Regions from separate parts of the Homo sapiens genome. Here region 1 is linked to region 2. The links are contacts of gene promoters, found by promoter capture Hi-C in human tissues and cell types (Jung and others, 2019). All regions are on one chromosome and are shown on one strand. The core of a region is centred on a gene start or on the middle of the fragment in contact, and the rest is flanking DNA. Distances in the headings are between cores, read along the strand shown. Region 1 overlaps CTC1 (CST telomere replication complex component 1). Region 2 holds the start of ODF4 (outer dense fiber of sperm tails 4).

The links. The method cuts DNA at HindIII sites, captures the fragments that hold promoters and counts their contacts. A contact is called where the count stands out against the background at its distance.
Region 1: a contact is called between a fragment that was not itself captured here and the fragment with the promoter of ODF4 in region 2, in 4 of the 25 tissues and cell types used here (H1 embryonic stem cells, IMR-90 fibroblasts, mesendoderm cells and 1 more).

Annotation. Positions count from the first base shown.
Region 1 is chr17:8,232,661-8,236,249 of GRCh38, forward strand. It overlaps CTC1 (CST telomere replication complex component 1), which reads right to left. Exons shown (of 23, transcript NM_025099.6): 6 at 3,398-3,589; 7 at 3,171-3,299; 8 at 2,393-2,625; 9 at 2,089-2,266; 10 at 1,795-1,995; 11 at 246-372. Among named protein-coding and RNA genes, the nearest start is that of TRI-AAT4-1, 7.4 kb to the left of the region's middle. The HindIII fragment of the contact is 3,118 bases long and covers 781-3,589 here.
Region 2 is chr17:8,338,235-8,341,757 of GRCh38, forward strand. It overlaps ODF4 (outer dense fiber of sperm tails 4), which reads left to right and starts at 1,606. Exons shown (of 3, transcript NM_153007.5): 1 at 1,606-2,271. The coding sequence starts at 1,818. It overlaps LOC124903916 (a long non-coding RNA gene), which reads left to right. Exons shown (of 2, transcript XR_007065607.1): 1 at 1-57; 2 at 189-524. The HindIII fragment of the contact is 12,554 bases long and covers 1-3,523 here.

The DNA.
Region 1 (3,589 bases), core at 1,090-3,589, 100 kb before region 2:
AGACACAGTTGTAATCCTGGAGTGCATGTTAGGAGCTACGGTGGAGAAATGCATGCTGGAAATTCTGGCTAGGGGTCCTCTTGCTCCTGTTCTCTGCCTGCCATACAAGTCTCCCAGAAGTTGTTGATTGACATGTGTCACTTCTGCATCTCTAGTAAATCCCAGCAGGCTTTTCCTCCCAGGCTCCCCTGGCTATGAGAACCACCATCCCACTACCATCTTCTTTCCACATCTGAACTCCAAACCTATCAGCCGTGGGTCACTGAGGGGTTGAGAGTGCTTGGCCAGGAGCAGGCAGGGCAGGGAACCACTTTGGTCCCGAAGTTGCAGACAACCTTTATGAGATGAAGCCACCAGAACCCCAAGTAAAACCTGCAAGAAGATGAAGGTTGAGTTATCAAATGTTTATTCAGCAAATACTGAGCATCTACTATTTGCCAGATGCTGTATTACATGGTAAAGCTACAAAATGAACAAAAAAGACACGTCTCTGGCTTCAAAAAACTTATATTCAAGTGGGGAAGACAGACATAAAAAAACACACACGCATTCACACATTTAGTAGGAGAAGAGAAAGCGCACAAATAGAGGTTACAGGTAAGAGGCCATGCGGGATCTCACAGGACACAATGAGACGTTTGATTTTACTTTATATGCACTGGGAGGCACGCAAAGAATTTAAGCTGGGGCGCAGTGGCTCACGCCTGTAATCCTAGCACTTTGGGAGGCCAAGGCAGAAGGATCACTTGAGCTCAGGAGGTGGAGATCAGCCTGGCAACATAGTGAGACCCCATCTCTAAAAATTAAAAAGTGTAAAAATTAACCCAGGCCAGGTGCAGTGGCTCATGCCTATAATCCCAGCACTTTGGGAGGCTGAGGCAGGCAGATCACTCAAGTCCAGGAATTCGAGACCAGCCTGGGAAACATGGCAAAATCCCATCTCTACAAAAACACAAAAATTAGCTGGATGTGGTGATGGATGCCTACAGTCCCAGCTACTCGGGAGGCTGAGGTGGGAGGACTGCTTGAGCCCAGGAGGCAAGGTTGCAGTGAGCCAAGATAGTGCCTCTGCACTCTAGCCTGGGTGACAGAGCAAGATTCTGTCCCAAAAAAATAAAAAAATAAAATTAGCCAGGGACGGTGGTGAACGCCCGTAGTCTCAGCTACTTGGGAGGCTGAGGTGGGAAGATCACTGGAACCTGGGAGGTCGAGACTGCAATGAGCCATGATCGCGCCAATGCACTCTAGCCTGGGCTACAGAGCAAGATCCTGTCTCGAAAAAAAGGATTTAAACAAGAGAGTTCTGTAATACAAGTTTCACTTTTTTTTAAACTTCCTTTTTTTTCCTGAGTCTTGCTCTGTTGCCCCGGCTGGAGTGCAGTGGTGTGATCTTGGCTCACTATACTCTTGATCTCTCAGGCTCAAGCAATCCTACCTCAGCCTCCTGAGTAGCTGGGACCATAGGCACATGCCACCGCACCTAATTAAGACAACTTTTTTGTAGCAACAAGGTCTCTCTACCCAGGCTGGTCTCAAACTCTTGGGCTCCAGTGATCCTCATGCCTTAGCCTCCCAAAGTGTTGGGATTACAGGCATGAGCCACTGTGCCTGGCATATCCCCATTTCTAGTTGCTGCAGAGAGAATGAATTGGAGGGCCAACAACAGATGAAGTGGTCTGCTTAGAAGGCTAGTGTAGTCAAAATGACGAAGAAAGATAGTAACCGAGACTAGAGTCGTGGCAATAAGGATGACAAAAAGGGAAATCACCTGAGCCCTGCTAGGGTCCCCCTTACCTGGGCTGGGCAGAAGGCAGAGGGCAGCAGACAGAGCCAGGACCAAGCCAGGCGGCGATTGAGTTGGCAGCTGGGCAGGTAGGAGGCCTCCGGGAGGGGCAGAAGGGCCTTAGGGTCAAAGGAGGCCCAGGCCTTACGCTGTCCTTCTTCTTTCAGGGTGGCCAGAGTGGGGAAGGAGGAGGGAGTCTGCAGCCGAGTGTACTGTCAAGGAGGGAAGAGAAATCGGGTGTGTGTCCCATGGGCCCCAGGTGTCCTCCAGTGTTCTGCCACCATCCTTCCCCCACATCCTCATACTTTCTGGAGGGGACAGTGATGTGGCTCTTCAAGGATCTCATTGTGTGCATTCCGAACAGGGCTGCCTGGCGGAGCTAGAAGATCCAGGGTAGGAGCCAGGAGTTGCAGTCCCAGGCTGGGGCTCCCAGGAGAGGAATGTTGCAGGAACTGGTGGTGTCTCAGCACATGGGGACACAGCCTTGGCCAGGAAAAGCAGCACAGTCACTTCCCCTGAAGAGCCTGCCTCTTCAAGAATCCTGCTCTCCTTGCCAAGGAAGTGTGCTACTCCCACTGCCTCCCCGCCCTGGGCCCTCAGCCTCCTCACTTGCAGGCCAGCTCCTCCAGGGCCTTGGTAGCCCACAGGTAGAGGGGAAGTCCTAACTGACGTTCCCACACCAGCTGCTCGTACAGGGAGGCCCCGTAGGCTTGACGGGATGAGTGAGCCCCAGGCTTCTGACGAGAGAAGCTTTGAAGCAGAACGGCGCCACGGAGGCAGGGGGCGAGCACTGGCCTTCTTGTCCCCCCTCCCACTGACTGGAGCAGGTGAACATCCTGGAGCTGGGGGAAAGCAGAGAAAATGAAAAAGCAGAGATGAAGACCCCAACTCAATGAACCCAGGCAGAGTTAACCGCACTTTGCCACTGCCTGGGTTCCAGGAAGACGGAAAGCAATTTCTCCCACGTGGGCTGGCCTCACTTTCCATTACAACCCACTCCCGCTGCGGTCAGCCTTCATCTCCCATGAGCTCCACTCAGTCTTGCTGTGGGCTGGGTGGCTCCTGGATGAACAGACATGGCTGAGGCTTCTCACCGGGTCGCCTGAGATCACCCCAGCCCCAGATCTGTGCTTCAGCTATCTCCTCCTCCAGCTGAAAGGCCCTTCTGTGAAGGAGATGCTCTGGCCACAACTCCTCCTCACAGTGCCCAAGACTCTACTCCTTTTTATTTAAGCTTCTGTCCAAGTTATCCTTAGCAAAAGTGCCCCCTAACACACACTTTTAATTTCTATATTTCTATATAACCACCCTGCTGCAGAAAAGGAGCCTATGAAGGTAAGAGAAGCTGCAGAGGTCTCTTTTTGTTATCAGCCCTGATCTCACATACCTGCAGACACACTCCAGGTCGCATCACCCGCCTAAGGCCACGGAACTGCTGGTAGGCAAGGCAGAGCCCCAGCTGCCCATCCAGCTCATAGAGGCCAGCGGGCTCATTCAACACGCCAGTGACTGCTCCCTGCAAACAGGCCGAGGTCCAGTTGACCACTATTTTCTTCCTCTTTGAAAACCCACATTTCTGGCCCCTCAAGCTCTAGGATCTCTCCCTGTGCTCACCGAATAGGATAGGAGTCTAGAATACCGGACAAGACTTTCTGGATCCTTCTTGTCCTCCGAGTTGCTGGGCATGGGGAGTGGCTTGGGGTCAGCCTCTAAGAGGGGTCCTTCCAGCTCCAGTTCCAGCTCCTGCACACATTCTGGTTTCAGCAGCAACAGACGGGAGGACTGACTGGTCATCCAAACATGCTG
Region 2 (3,523 bases), core at 356-2,855:
GGCTGCTTTCACTTATGGTGGAGGCAAGGGGGAGCTGGCTTGTGCAGAGATCACAAGGTAAGGGAGGAGCTGAAACTGTGCCCCAAACAGTTAAATAAACCAGTGATTAACAGACATTTTCGAGTTTACAGGATGGCAGCTAAGAAACAGCTTGCTGAAATGCTGAAAAATCCCTTTGCTTATAACAGGACTGGCTGAAATCAGTGGGAACCCGTATGGCTGACAGCAATCCGCACAGAACGAGCTTGCTGATGTCACAGCCTGAATTTCCACCTGCTGTTTCATACTAACGCCACCAAATTTGCACATGCAACCCACGAAGAACCTTGGAGATAACCAGACATGATTAAGGACTTTCTAGACTTCTCCTTTCTTTCCACCAATCACCCGCTAATCCCAGAATCCTCCCCCTAAACCTTTTCTAATAAAAGTACTGCCTTAAGACCAGCAAAGAGAGACAGATTTGAGCTGGATTCCCGTATCCTCGTGGGTCAGCTCACAATAAAGCTTTCCTTTTCTCAAAACCTAGTGCCCTAGTATTGGAGTATTGGCTTCTATGCACATCTGGCAGCGAGCACTTTTGCTTGGTAACAGCGCCAGGTTCTTTTTAACAACCAGCTATTGCGGGGAGCTAATGGAGTGAGGTCTCAGGGAAGGCGTTAATCCAATCACAAGGCATCTGCCCCCATGACCCAAACACCACCCACTAGGCCCTCTCACCTCCCATCACCACCACACTGGGGAGCAAATTTCAGCATGAGGTTTGGTGAAGACAAATTAACCATATGCAGACCACAGGAGGGCCTCTCACATACCATTGCTCATATGTAAAGGGAGGCAGAAGCTGGAGGGAGGTGTCAGATCCACAGTTCTGAGCTGTGGCCTGAGAAACAGGATTTCCGGAAAGAGTTAGAGCTGGAGCCACAGGCCAGGCAAGGTGGCTCACACCTGTAATCCCAGTGCTTTGGGAGGCCAAGTGGGGAGGATCTCATGAGGCCAGGAGTTTTTTTTTTTTTTTTTTGAGGCTGAGTTTCACTCTTGTTGCCCAGGCTGGAGTGCAATGGTGCGATCTCGGCTCACCGCAACCTCCGCCTCCCAGGTTCAAGCAATTCTCCTGCCTCAGCCTCCTGAGTAGCTGGGACTACAGGCATGTGCTACCACGCCCAGCTAATTTTGTATTTTTAGTAGAGATGGGGTTTCTCCATGTTGGTCAAGATGGTCTCGAACTCCCGACCTCAGGTGATCCACCCACCTCGGCCTCCCAAAGTGCAGTGATTACAGGCGTGAGCCACCGTGCCTGGCAGAGGCCAGGAGTTTGAGACCAGGCTGGGTAACATATCAAGACCCCATCTCTACAAACAATTGAAAAATTAGCCAGGCATGCTGGCACAATCCTGTAATCCCAGCTACTCAGGAGGCTGAGGTGGGAGGATCACTTGAACCCAGGAGTTCAAGGTTGCAGTGAGCCAAGGTTGTGCCACTGCATCCCAGCCTGGGCAATAGAGGGAGACCCTGTCTCTCTCTCTAAAAAAAAAAAAAAAAAAAAAAAAAATTGCTGAAGACTTGGCTTCCCTCCCCCATCTCACTGTGCCCCAGGAAAATTCCGTGGCAGTTAGGGGACCTGGCCTGCTGAATGGGTTGGGGCCTTCTCTTGGATCAAGAGTCTCTTATTTGATCGAGGTCTGTTATTAGACTTCCTCATTCTTTCTCAGACCTCAGGCTGCATGGTGGCAGCTGATGAAAATATCCAAAAGATGAGAAGAGACAATTGAGTCTGGTGAGGGAAAGGGGAGACAGAGGGTGAAGTGGTGCTCAAGATGGATGCAGAGTACTCTGGGAATGAGTTCCCCAGGTCAGAAGGAGAAAGAGACCAACATCAGAGACCTGGAAAGGAAAGGAAGAGTGGGGAGGCAGGATGGGGCACAGGTGAGCTGGGACAAGATGGGAGACTGCTGTCCTCCACCCTCTCCCTCAGTAGTAACAGGTCCTTGGGCCAGCGCCAGAACTCTCCGCTGCCCTTTCAATGGAGAATCACACACAGCTTCCGCTGGATGGCCCAGGTGTTGGCCTCTGAGCTCAGCCTGGTTGCCTTTATCCTACTATTGGTCGTGGCCTTCTCCAAGAAATGGCTGGACCTCTCTAGGAGCCTCTTCTACCAGCGCTGGCCCGTGGATGTCAGCAACAGAATCCACACATCAGCCCACGTTATGTCCATGGGGCTCCTGCACTTTTACAAATCCAGGAGCTGTTCTGACTTAGAGAATGGGAAAGGTGAGCCCCTCCACCCCCCATCCCAGCCCAGGCCGCCAGCCTGTCTTGGCCTCTGTATCTGCACCCTGGATGTATTCTTGTTCCCTCTTTCTGGTCATCTTTACTTTTTGGCCTGCAAGATGGTTCCACTGGCACTGAGACCTCCGATGATCGTTTCTCATCCTGTAGCCTGGCTAAATAGATTTGATTGGTGCAATGGAAAATGTCACTGCTTTTGATAAAACCCAGAGCCAAATCTGTGCTTCTAAGAATGCTGTGAGAGAGTTGGGCATGGTGCTGCACACCTGTAGTCTCAGCTATCCAGGAGGCTGAGGTGGGAGGATTGCTTGGGCCCAAGAATTTGAGTCCAGCCTGGGCAATTTAGTGAGACTCCTGTCTCAAAAAAAAAAAAAAAAAAATCAGGCTGGGCACTGCGTCTCACACCTGTAATCCCAGCACTTTGGGAGGCCAAAGCAGGCAGATCACCTAAGGTTGGGAGATCGAGACCATCCTGGCTAACATAGTGAAACCCCGTCTCTACTAAAAATACAAAAAATTAGCCAGGCGTGGTGGCACATGCCCGTAATCCCAGCTACTCTGGAGACTGAGGCAGGAGAATTGCTTGAACCCGGGAGGTGGAGGTTGCGGTGAGCCGAGACCGCACCATTGCACTCCAGCCTGGGCAACAAGAGTAAAACTCTGTCTCAAAAAAAAAAAAAAGTTACGAGGGGCATGGACTCAGCACAAGAGAATCATTCATTAATCGCCTAATTTACCAGGGACAAGAGCCCCAGTGAGATGGGGGTTTCCTTAGTCTTGTGTACCCAGAGCTTTGAGAGGACTCCTTGCAATGTCCCCTCTCAGGCCCTGATCCCACACATTCTCCTTTCCTTCTGCCTCAGGCCTTGCTTTTCTGGATCATTTTCCTTTTTCCACATCTGGCTTCTGTGTTCCTTCTTTCCCTGAATTCTTGCAGCTGCTTCATTCCTCATCCTTGTTTTTTTCTGTTTGTTTCGCTGATTTTTTTAGAGACAAGGTCTCACTCTGTCACCCAGGCTGGAGTACAGTGGTGCAATCATAGCTCACTGCAGCCTCGAACTTCCAGGCTCAAGGGATCCTCCTGCTTTAACTTCCGGAGAAGCTCAGACTACAGGCCGTGGCCACCACACCTGGTTCTTATTGTTGTTAGTCTCTGGTTATGCTGTTCCCTCACCCCTCAGGAATTTGGAGTTCTTTCCCTGCTCCTGGGGAAAACCAGAGCTTTTGACCCTTA